3 separate regions of the Homo sapiens genome follow, and all the other regions are linked to region 1. The links are contacts of gene promoters, found by promoter capture Hi-C in blood cells and fetal thymus (Javierre and others, 2016). All regions are on one chromosome and are shown on one strand. The core of a region is centred on a gene start or on the middle of the fragment in contact, and the rest is flanking DNA. Distances in the headings are between cores, read along the strand shown.

Region 1 (4,035 bases), core at 309-2,808:
AAGGTTACTCCCTCTTTCCTGAGGGATGATTTTGGAAAAACAAAAAAGCAAAAACTTCACCCTATATTCAAGCTTATACGGCATTTGCAGATGACTCCCAAATATTTATGTCCATCCCAGACCGCTCCTCTAAGTTGCAGACCTACCTACCCAACCAGCACTTCAAAGTCAGCAGCCCCAAGTCACAGTCATCATCTCCTCATACGAACCCCCTGCAGCCTCCTGCTGCTCCTTTTGTGGAGCACAGCCAGCCTCACCACCATCCATCCACCCAGCTGCCCAAGCGCCGTGGATATGATCAAGGACCCCAGTCTCTCCCTCACTCCTCTTCCAAAATCACACTCCCTTCTTCTTCAGCTGAAACTGTGTTCCTTCTCCACAGAAGTTCCTGATTTCTTTGTGCCATTTGTACACATCTCAAGTCCAGAAAACCTGTTTTTCTCACAGTCTACTCGCAGTCCTAAGGAAGAAGGACAGGAGTCAGAACTCTTCCCAGTTCCTTTAAGATTGCTTGCTCTTTGTCTCTGTCTGATTTCCCCTCTCCCCATATTCTCTCCCAAGTTGGTTTTTTGAGCCCCTTCCCACTTCCCTGCCCGGTTTCCTCCTCACTTAATTTTTCTAGGGAGTATATCGTGAGTGGGACCACCATCCCCAAAGCTCTTCTTTCCAATATCTCCCGATCTCTACCCTCAAATTTGGGATAAAGAGAAAGTGGGGGAAAGGGAGCCTGGGGGTGAAGGAGAGAAAAGAGACAGAAATCATGGGATAATGAAAAGTGACTAACAGGGGAGAAGGCCGAGGTTACGATGGAAGAAGGGGAAGAGACAGCGGGTAGTGAAAAGGGCAGGGGTGAGAAAAGGGAATGAGGAGAAGGCGTGAGGAAAAGGGGATGATGAGGTGAGGCGAAAGACACAGGGAGAAGGGGATGGGGAGAAAGGTGGGGAGAAGAGACGGGGAGAAAGGGATAGGAAGAAAAGGATAAAAGGAGAGGTGGGGAAGGAGAATCTGATGTAAAGAGGCTGGAGAGAGATCAAGCAGAAGGGGTAAGGAGAAGAGAAAGGGGAGAAGAGCTGGGGAGAAAATGATGGAGATGGGGCGAGAAGAAGAGGATGGGAGAAAGGCAGAGGGGAATGGAGATGACGGTTGGGAAAAAGAAGGGGCGAGAGGGAGACCAGGGCACTGAGGGAGAAGAGGGGAATAGGGGATGGAAAGAAGATGGAAGAGGAGGAGGTGAGCAGCAGGGAGCGGCGAGAAGGGGAAGAGACGAGAGGGCGTAGAGAACCGAATGGGAGGAGAGGACGGGAGAAGTGACGGGGAGAAGGGAAGGGAACCGGGACGGGGGCGCGGCGCGGCGCTGGGGCCGGATCCGGAGCCGGGGCCTGGGGCCGGGAAGTGGAGGGGCGGAGGGAGGCCGGGCGGGCGCCGGGGGGAAGGGGGGGCGGCGGCGCGGAGCGCGGGTGGGGGCGGGGGCGGGGGCTCCGCGGGCGGAGGGGCGGGGGCTCGGGTTACCGCGCGGAGGGCGGGGGGAGGGGAGGGGAGGGGGCGCGGGGCCGCGGCAGCGGAGCTCGCATCCTCGGCGGGGCGGCTGTGCAGGAGGCGGCGCCCGGGCGTCAGCGGACGGACCGATCGACGGCCAAGGGCGCGCGGACCGACGGCGGCTGCCCGGAGGGGATCGCGGGCCTCGGAGACAGCGACTGCGGACGATGCGCGGCCTCAGGCCCCGCGCGAGCGGGCGCTGCCCGGGGGGCTGACCGCGGCCGGACGGCGCCCCAGCACCGGGCGAGGGAGCCCGCGTCGCGCGGAGGTCAGTGCCCGCGCCCGCCCGGCCCGTCTGGCCGCGCCCGCCCTGCCCGCCGGCCTCCCCTGGGCTGCGGCAGCGGCGGCGGAGCCGGGGGCTTTGTTCTGAGCCGGAGACAATGGGGGAGGGGGGGCCTGGGCCTGCGGGACCCGGGCGGGCGTGAACGTGAGCGTGGGGGCAGGGCCTGGGGGTCTTTGTGTGCGTGTGTCATCGAGTCGGGGAGGGTGGCGGCGGGAGCGTGCGCCGGGGGTGTGGGGTGCGACAGCGTTGTGTTCCAGTGCATCGTCGGAGTGTGTCAGTGCGTGTCACTGGGAGGTTGTGTGTCCCTGGGCGTCTCTCTGGCTGTGTGTGCATGTGCGTGTCACTCTGAGGGTGTGAGGGTCAGAATGACCGTGTGTCATGGTGAGCGAGTCCCTGTGAGGGTGTGTTGCCCGCTCTGTGGGAGCCCATGTGTCAGAATGTGGAGGATGGGTGTGTGACAGAGACCAACTGAGACAGAGACAAAGAAACTGAGTGGGGAGAAGTACAGAGAAGCAGAGGAGAGGCAGGCACAGCCTGAAGTGGATGGAGGGGGGGGTCACCCAGACGTGTTCTGAGTGGGAGATTGGAGCAACTGGGAGTTTGTGTCTGGGATACCCAGCTCAGAATCCCGTGCAGGGGACAGAGCAAGGTCACCGCAGGCGTGGGTCCCACGTGGAGGGGGTGGGGAGAGGGAGGTCTAGAAGCACAATGAACTCAGTGTGGCGGGCTGGGCCCACAGCCACAAGGTCATAGGCCAGAAAAATATTGTCGCTTATGTCAACTTCTCAAATACCCATAGGGACACAGTCATAGCCCTACTCAACCCACAAGAGGACACAGTCCCAGGGAACACACATCCTCAAGAGATACCCTCACAGCCATCATACACTTCCAGGAAGCCCACCCCCAGGAAGCACCCCCAGTCAGAACCAACACACACCTACAGCAGACTCTATCAAGCCAACACACACCTACGGAAAATGCTCTCATGACAACACACACCCACAGGAGAAATGCTGCAACCAACATACTCCCACCGGTTCATTGTCAAGGCCAACACATACCATGGAAGACATTGTTACTGCTAACACTCTCCAGAAACACTGTCACCAGCAACAAACAAGTAGACCAGCACCTCTCAGGAGACATTGTCACTGCAATCCACATCCATCAGAAGCACTGTCACAACTGTCACAGCACATCTTATTAGGTTTACTTCCTTGGAGCTGCCCATACATAGTGGGTGTCCTAGAAGCCTGTCACTAACAGGAGGCTGTGCCACAGTTGCCCTTACCACACAGCCACTTGTACAACCCCCAGGAGACAGTCATGGATGGCATGCACACCACAGGAAGACCTGTCCCAACTTCTGAATAAACTCTGCTTAACTTATCAAGCTCACACCTTCACCCCTTCTCATACGTAGATCTCCCAGGTATACCCTCTTGTTCCCTGAAAACTTCGAGATCTGGATAGTGTATCCTGCCATGGTTTCTCAGTGTCCTTCAACACCACAGCTTCACAGATTCTTGACCTCCTTAGCTCCTGTTACCTTCCTCCCTCCCAGGACCACTCTGTAGAACTATTCCACCTTTAAAATTCTAAACTCTTGCATTCCTCTCTCTACCCACAACCTCCTATATCCTTCCAGCTTTCAGATGTTCTCGCTCCCATTACACTCTTTGACCTCATAATGACCTCTTGCCCTTGACCTCTTTGTTTTCTCCTACTCTGTTCCTTTCTGACTTTGTGCTTTCTTTCCAGCTCATATGCTAAGGATCATCCCTTCAACCACTCCTTGGCCACTGTGTTTCCTTGTCTTCTATACTCATCCCTCAAATTATTGCCCCTAACTAGAATGATTTCTCAACCACACCAGGGGACGCTTCTATAAATTCATACTTCTAAAAAATTCAAACCTCAACTGGGCCCTTCATAAATAAATAGATGATTTTTTTTCTATTTTCTTCACACTCATTACCCCACATCCCTCACACCATTGTTTTCAGTAGATTAATTAATCAAAACGCTAATTCATTCATTTAACAAACACATACTAGGCACCTACTCTGCTAGGCATTGTGATGAGAGTTGGCAGCACAAGTGTGAACAAAATGGACATGGTCCTTATCCTCATGGAGCTTACAGGCTGTGGAGTGAGTGTTGTAACACAGCAGCACACAGCAGAGTAACCTAGGCCAGTGTAGGGAGGTCAG
Region 2 (4,035 bases), core at 1,126-3,625, 440 kb after region 1:
GAGCCTTACATGTTCTTGGGATGTTTCTTCTTGGTTCCTGGTTCTTGGAGGAACAGATCTCTTCTAATTTCAGGATGCCCGTGTTAAACATGTAGATGCTTTCCTTTCCACTGTGGTCCTTTCAAGCTTGATTCTTTGGCTTGACTTTGTAACGTATATAGCCTGCCTTGTGTGCCTTGAAGTGACTAATTTTGGCTAACCAGCCTGTGTTAATTCCGTATTGCTGTCATAACAGATTATCAAACCTAATGCTTAAAACAGATTTATTGTCTTACAGTTTTGTAGGTCATATGTATGACCTGGATCTCGCCAGGCTAAAATCAAAATTTTGGGGGGTGGGGTCTGTGTTCCTTTCAGGAGGCCGTAGGACAGGATCCATTTCCTTATTTCTATTGGCAGAATTAATTTTCTAGCAGTTGTGGCATTGAGATCTCTGTTTTCTTGCTGGTTGACAACTGAAGAACATTCTCAGCCTGTAGAGCAACCAGATTCCTTGGCTCATGGCCCCCCTTCATCCATAGATAATAGATATCTATGGATCTCTATTATCTGTGGATATCTAGGATAATCTCATCTAGGATACTCACATCTGCGAAGTCGTCTCTGCCACGTGAGGTGAAATATTTTTAGGGTCTGGAGATTAGGATGTGAGCATCTTTGAGGGACCACTTTTCTACCCACTTACTACTTTTCAGTGAGTCTGAATTTTTTCATTGCTAGCTAAAGTGGTCATTTAGGATAGCCTCCTGAACATCCATGCTATTCAAAATGTGAACTGCTGTCACGTGTTTTTCTTGCTGTGTGGTTGACTTTTAATTCTCCCGTGGTCATGTAGCAAATAATGAATGCCTAAACTGTTCAGGTAGTGCCCTAGACCAAGACCCATTCGTTGTCTTCAGGGAGCTCAAGGTGTCTGACACACTTGCTGTAAGGGAAGTATAGAGAAAGTGCTAGGAAGATTCAGAGAAGTGAGGGAAAGGTTACATATGTGTTTTCTTTACCTAGTCAGAGATGAACCAACCTTCTTCCTTTTCTAAAATAAAAGATTTCCTCTAATCTTGACCCACCTACTTTTTCCTTTTCCTGTCAGCTGCGCTTGAGTTGTTCTTTATCCTGCCTTCTGAGAGATACACTAGTGTTAGAGAGGTGACTCAGACTTCATGTTTGCAGCCCCACCTACTTCCCAGTTGGGAATCTTCCCGGTTCCCTCTAGTTTCTTATTGGTAGGCATTCAGTTACTGTATTGCTACAGTCCCTTCTGGCAGGCATTCACTTAATTACCATGTTTCTGTTGTCTCCTGTTAGTCATTCACTCAATCACAGTATTTCTTAGTCTCTTCTCATGGATTTTCGTTCAAGTGTTGCTGGAGTCTCTGCTGACCAGGTATATATAGCTAGAGAGTCTATAGAAGTCCATTGGGTCTGAGATGCTTCATTTGTATGAATAGCAAAGTCTTGCTCGCAAAGATCGTGTGATCATCTAGCTAATACTTGAATGACTTATGTGCCAGGCATGGTACATGGTCCTCTAGGAGTTCCTCTAGGAGTGGTTGGTTGGGCCAACTTGGGGCTGGTGGGGTTCCCGTTTGGTGAATGGCTTGGAGGGCAGAGAGCTCTTATGGTGACTCCCTCCCTCCCCTCCACCCCCCCAGCTCTGCATGGTCTCTCTGAGTCTCTTCAGGACCCTCCTGAACCTCAGCTGTGAGGATGTCCTGCTGCAGCTGGTTCTCAGGTATCTGTTGGGGCAGGGCTGAGGGATGGCTGACCCTGAAGCCTCAGAGTCTTATGCATTGCTGGGGCAATGGGCTATATAGGGGTTACTCATGAGTTTCCACTTGGAGCCTGGCTTAACCATGCAGTTTCATTGGCCTGATGTTCCTCTAGGCCCTGTCCTTCCTTCCTGATCTACCCTGTGTCCCCTTTCTGATGTCTTTCTCAGGTATCTTGTTCCATGTAACCACGTTATGCTGAGCCAGAAGCCGGCTGTTCGTGATGTGGACCTATATGGACGAGCAGCTGACAAGTTTCTCTCCCTAATCCCACGCTGTTGTCGGCACCACGCCCCCAGCCCACCTCGTCCAGAGCATGCCTCATGGGCACGAGGTGGGCCTAGCAGAGAGACAGGGAGAAGGGAGGACATCACGGGTATGGCCTAGGTTCTGGGGGAGCGTAGCAAGGAGGGGCTGGGGTGAAGGGGAGGAAGGTGTCCATGAATGATAGTCTGTCTTTGGGGAGGTTGATGAGGGTGTCTTGCAGGGAGGACCCTTAACACTCACCAAAGAAAATTAGAGTGGGACTTCTGGGCAAAGCTATTCTTGTTCTTCTCTCTAGTCGTGTACTCTTCCTGTTTCCATTGTGTCTTCAGTGGTGATGGTGGTGAGTGGGGGTGGTGGATGAGGATAAGGTTAATTAGGAGGTTGGAGAGTTAGCTGTCTGAATAGATTCCATGTTTCTGCCTCCCCATTGTCTTCTTTCTTAGTCTCCCGAGGTGTCTTATCTCTCCTTCTGAACCTCTGTCTCCTTGATTTCTCTTATATTTTTTCCCTTTGCAGGTCCTGGAAGCCCAAGTGTGGACTCCTCTTCTGTGACGACAGTACCCCGGCCCTCCACACCATCTCGTCTGGCTCTCTTCCTGCGGCAGCAGAGCCTGGGTGGCTCTGAGTCTCCAGGCCCAGCCCCTTGCTCACCAGGGCTTTCTGCATCCCCCGCCTCCAGCCCTGGCCGACGGCCTACCCCTGCAGAGGAGCCTGGAGAGCTGGAAGACAATTACCTGGAGTATCTGCGTGAGGCACGTCGTGGTGTGGACCGCTGTGTCCGAGCCTGCCGTACCTGGTCTGCCCCCTATGATGGCGAGCGGCCCTCTCCTGAGCCCAGTCCTTTTGGCTCCCGGACTAAGAAACGCAGCCTACTGCCTGAGGAGGACAGGAACAACGTGGGGGAAGGGGAGGAGGAAGAGCTGGGGAGGAGGGGGCGGGCTGGGGGTGCAGGGGAGGGCCCTGGTCACCTGCCCCCTCCCCAGCTCAATGGAGTGCCAGGATCATGGCCTGAGGGGGCCAAGAAGGTTCGTCTGGTGCCAAAGGAGGGAGCTGGGGAACTGCTAGAGGGCATCTCCGAGGGCATGGCAGGACTAGAGGGCTTTGGGCAGGAGCTCCGGGAGCTAGAGGTGGCATTGAGCAATGGGGGAACTGGCTCAGAGTCCCCCTTAGAACCTCCACTGCCCCTTGAGGAGGAGGAGGCCTACGAGAGCTTCACCTGTCCCCCTGAGCCCCCTGGCCCCTTCCTCAGCAGCCCTTTGCGGACTCTCAACCAGCTGCCAAGCCAGCCCTTCACTGGTAAGCTACTTAGCCTAGGCCTTCCCTTCTGTGTACTCTTTGCATGTTCTCGACATGTTTGTGCTGGTTTCTTGGACCTCTTGGCCATGTCATTTCTGTGTACTTGCCTAGCCCCTCATCCATCCTGCTTGCATCACTTCCAGATACGTGTCATGTCATACTTGTGTCCCTGTGTCTGTCTGTACGTCTTCCATGCTTGTGCTGGTTTGAGTATTGACTTACATCTGAGCCTTGTATGTATGTCCTATGTGCATGTTCCTCCTCTTTCCCTAGTCTGGCCATTTCCTGCGATTTGTAATTAGGATATTCTGTGTTTGATGTTTCCTGGTGAATCACAGCAATATTTCTGAACCATATTGAAGACGTATGTGCTGTCCTGTATGGAGAGGCACCTAAACACTCTCTATGCCATTCCGTCCAGTTTATCTGTCTGGGTCTTGGGTTTTCTGTCAGCTCTCCTGGGGCCTAAGGTTAACCTTCTGGTATTTTTCTCCCTACTCAGCTCCTTCCTCCCCACCTCTTCAAAGAAGGACTTGATTTCAAGTTTTTCCTGTTCGCTTTCCTTGTACCTTCTTGGTTGCTGTGACTGTCTGCTAGCACTAAGACTGTCTTAAGCAGATAGAGTGCAATTTCTTTGAAGGCAAATGACAAAGCGTGGCCCTGAGCTCCCTGACTGAGTTCATTTGGACTCTCAAGGATGCCC
Region 3 (4,035 bases), core at 1,093-3,592, 280 kb after region 1:
GATGAGCAGGAAACCAGGCTGCTTTGATCTTGCTCACCATCCCCAAAATGTGGCTTTCACCTTGTGGCTCATGCTCCAGCCATCATCTCTACACTCTTGCCAGCAGGAAAAAGAACAGAGCCCTTCCCTTTAAGGACACTTCCTAGAAGTTGCACAAGACATTTTTACCCTTATTTCCATGGCTAGAACTTGAACACATTATTCTACTGCAAGGGAGGTGAAGAAATGTCATTTTTGTTCCAGGAGGTCATTTACTCTGCTGAAATTCACAGACTGTACTACCATAGAAGATGGGAGAATGGCTATTAGAGGACAAAGACAGTCTTAGCCATACTCTTTCTTTCTGACATTTTCAACCTCTCCTGCTCAATTTGAAAATCCAATCAAGATTCTATCTTTAAAAGTCAAAATGAGGTAAATCAACACAAAACAAATGCAAGCTTCTTTCTAGACCTAACCCAGTATCCTTCACTATCGGTGTTTCTCTGCTCTGTTTAACAGAACATATCTCAAAAGAACGTCCTGCACATGCTATTCCCATTTCCTTGCATTTTGACCACCACGAATCTATTAAAATGGCTAAGGCACCTCGTGACCTCCACATAAACATATCTAAGGGGCCCTTTTCAGTCTCTGTCTTCTCGACCTCTCAGCAGAATGGGATGCATTTGATTGTTCTCATTATCTTTGACACTTTCTTCTCTTGGCTTCTCCGACACCTCAGTCTTAGCTTTTAGATTGTTAAAGCAAACTAAATATGGCCTGAGAAGGACTCCATACTTCTATATTTGAGTCCTTGTAGACAAATCGTAACATAGCTTAATAGGCAGACAAGATTGAAAACCTAATTTAAGACTATACACCTGTAATGATAGCTGTGTCTTGGCCAATCCCAGCAGCCATACTTCAACCACTCACAGACTGCTGAGTGTTCAAACTGTGTTCAAATAAGGCAAAGGCCAACCTGTAACCCATCCAGCTGTTTCTGTACCTCACTTTTTTTTTTTTTTTTTTTTTGAGACAGAGTCTCAGTCTGTTCCCCAGGCTGGAGTGCAGTGGCGCGATCTTGGCTCACTGCAAACTCTACCACCCAGGTTCATGCCATTCTCCTGCCTCAGCCTCCCGAGTAGCTGGGACTAAAGGTGCCCGCCACCATGCCCGGCTAATTTTTTGTATTTTTAGTAGAGACGGGGTTTCACCGTGTTAGTCGGGATGGTCTCGATCTCCTGACCTCGTGATCCGACCGCCTTGGCCTCCCAAAGTGCTGGGATTACAGGCAGTGAGCTCACTACGTGAGCCGACTTCTGGTTTTTGTATATTACTTTACTTTTTTTATTTATAAATCTGTTCTGACCATGAGGAACCGCTGGAGTCTCTCTGAATCTGCTGTGATTCTAGGGGCTGCCTGATTCATGAATCGTTCATTGCTCAATTAAACTCTTTTAAATTTAATTTGGCTGAAGTTTTTCTTTCAACAAGATAAATTTGTCACTAATGAGAGTGTTAATTTTTTTCCAGTTTGATTTTCTGTCTTTTGCATTTTGCTTATGGTGGGTTTTGTAATGTGGAATTTTTATTTTATATTGTCAAAATCTTGACCTTTCCTTTTATGGGTTATGTGTTATGTCATACCTAGAAAGACCTTCTATGCTCCAAGAGAAAAATCCTGTGCTTTCTTCTTCTACTTCTTCTTCTTCTTCTTTTTTTTTTTTTTTTAATTGAGACAGGGTCTCACTTTCTCACCCAGGCTGGAGTGTGGTGGCATGATCTCGGCTCACTGCAACCTCAGGTTCCCAGGTTCAAGTGATTCCCTTGTCTCAGCCTCCCAAGTAGCTGGGACTATGGGCATGGGCTACCATGTCCTACTAATTTTTGTATTTTTAGTAGAGATGGGGTTTTGCCATGTTGCCCAGGCTGTTCTTGAATGCCTAAGCTCAGGCAATTCGCCCACCTTGGCCTCCCAAAGTGCTAGGATTACAGGCATGAGCCACAGCGTTCGGCTGACTGTGCTTTCTTCTTCTGAAGAAAAGAAATAGAAATTGTGGCTCACATGGATCTTCATTCGGACTTGAGGTGTCTCACTGGGAAGCCCTGCTGGCCCCAGCTGGTTCCAAGCATCAGAGACTTAGAAAATGTTGCAGAAGTCACTCCAGAGCAGGGATCCGCTCAGAGGTGGGGCTGGGCAGAAGCCCTGTTTGAAAGGTCTAACGGCCATACTGGAATGTGGGAATTAACTTTTTTTTTTTTTTTTGAGATGGAGTTATGCTCTAATTGCCCAGGCTGGAGTACAGTGGCAGGATCTCGGCTCACCGCAACCTCTGCCTCCTGGGTTCAAGCGATTCTCCTGCCTCAGCCTCCCGAGTAGCTGGGGATTACAGGCATGCACCACTGTGCCTGGCTAATTTTGTATTTTTAGTAGAGACGGGGTTTCTCCATGTTGGTCAGGCTGGTCTCGAACTCCCAACCTCAGGTGATCCACCTGCCTTGGCCTCCCAAGGTGCTGGGTTTACAGGCTTGAGCCACCATGCCTGGCCAGGGATTGACTTTTTTTTTTAATTTTAAATTATTATTATTGTTTTTTGAGACAGGGTCTGGCTCTCTGTTGCCCAGGCTGGAGTGCAGTGGCACCATCTTGGCTCACTGCAACCTCTACCACCCAGGCTCAAGCCATCCTCCCTCCTCAGCCTCCCATGTAGCTGGGATTACAGGCATGCGCCACCATGCCCAGATAATTTTTGTGTTTTTTTTTATAGAAACAGGGCTTCACCACATTGCCCAGGCTGGTCTTGAACTTCTGAGTTCAAATGATCTGCCTGCCTTGGCCTCCTAAGGTGCTGGGATTACAGATGTGAGCTACCACACCCAGCTGCAATTCACTTTTGACCAAGAGAAAAAACTTAAGAGGAATCCAGTTGTCCATAAAGTGACAAGGAATATTTGCTGCATATTTGAGGATCTTTTGATCAACTTAATACAGAACCTGGCATCTTTACGTCTCCTTAGGGCCAGATGATCATAGCCACTCCCAGCCTCAGATACTTTTAATATGTTGATGAGCTTCTGAGCTCAGACATCTCTAACTTAACTATGTCCAAAATGGAGCTTTTGATCTTTCATTCTGATTTTGACACTGCTCCAGTCTTTCCTATCTAGGGATGGGCACCTCAGCATACCGGACACTTGGAGTCATTAAAACAATTTTTTAAAATTTTTAAATTCTTTTTCTTTAAACAATTTTTTTTTTTTTTTTAAAGATAGGGTCTTGCTGTCTTTCCCAGGCTGGTCTCAAACTCCTGGGCACAAGGGATCCACCTGCCTCAGCCTCCTGTGTAGCTAGGACTACAGGCATACACCACTGTGCCCAGCTCTTGGAGTCATCTTTGACACTTCATCTCCCTTTACCTCTACATTTTATTAATTATCAAGTCATGTCTATTTCTCCTCTAAAACCCAACCTAAGTCTTACCTCTGATCACCTCTGTAGCTACTGTCTTAGCCTAAGTTACTACCATCTCTATCTTAGATTGCTACAAGTTATCCTAACTGGTTTTCCCTGATTTCACCATTGCCCCCAAGTCGATTTCCCATAGCCCACTCCTCTCTTTTGAAATTGTATATCAGATTGTTTCATTCCCCTGATGAAAATTAATTAATTCAACAAATTAGTATAGAGATCTACAGTGTGCCAGGCACTGTTCAGGTATTGGGGGATACATTAGTGATGGGGATACATCGATGTTTTGAAACTAAGCATTCAAAAATCCCTGCTGTCATAGAGTTTACAAAAAAGCAAATAGTGCCATGAAGGAAAATTAAGAATGAAAGGGGTTGGGGAGAGCTGGGGTGGGTGTGCAATTTGAAGCAGGGTGATTAGGGGATGTTTCACTAAGAAGACTATATTTGGGTGGCCAGGTGCGGTGGCTCACACCTGTAATCCCAGCACTTTGAGAGGCCGATGCCGGTGGATCATGAGGTCAGGAGTTCAAGACCAGCTTGGCCAAGATGGCGAAACCCCCTCTCTACTAAAAATACAAA

What was found. Contacts are between HindIII fragments. The CHiCAGO score rates a contact against its expected background, and 5 or more counts as called.
Region 2: a contact is called between a fragment that was not itself captured here and the fragment with the promoter of DCHS1 in region 1, in 1 of 17 cell types (fetal thymus). The highest score is 6.6, in fetal thymus.
Region 3: a contact is called between a fragment that was not itself captured here and the fragment with the promoter of DCHS1 in region 1, in 9 of 17 cell types (non-activated CD4 T cells, total CD8 T cells, total CD4 T cells and 6 more). The highest score is 8.6, in non-activated CD4 T cells.

What each region holds. Positions count from the first base shown.
Region 1 is chr11:6,653,332-6,657,366 of GRCh38, reverse strand. DCHS1 (dachsous cadherin-related 1) reads left to right here and starts at 1,558. Exons shown (of 21, transcript NM_003737.4): 1 at 1,558-1,804. The HindIII fragment of the contact is 4,247 bases long and covers 75-4,035 here.
Region 2 is chr11:6,216,668-6,220,702 of GRCh38, reverse strand. FHIP1B (FHF complex subunit HOOK interacting protein 1B) reads left to right here. Exons shown (of 12, transcript NM_001098794.2): 7 at 1,653-1,732; 8 at 1,940-2,103; 9 at 2,553-3,332. Among named protein-coding and RNA genes, the nearest start is that of C11orf42, 13 kb to the right of the region's middle. The HindIII fragment of the contact is 4,493 bases long and covers 129-4,035 here.
Region 3 is chr11:6,372,532-6,376,566 of GRCh38, reverse strand. No RefSeq gene overlaps it. Among named protein-coding and RNA genes, the nearest start is that of SMPD1, 16 kb to the left of the region's middle. The HindIII fragment of the contact is 3,799 bases long and covers 443-4,035 here.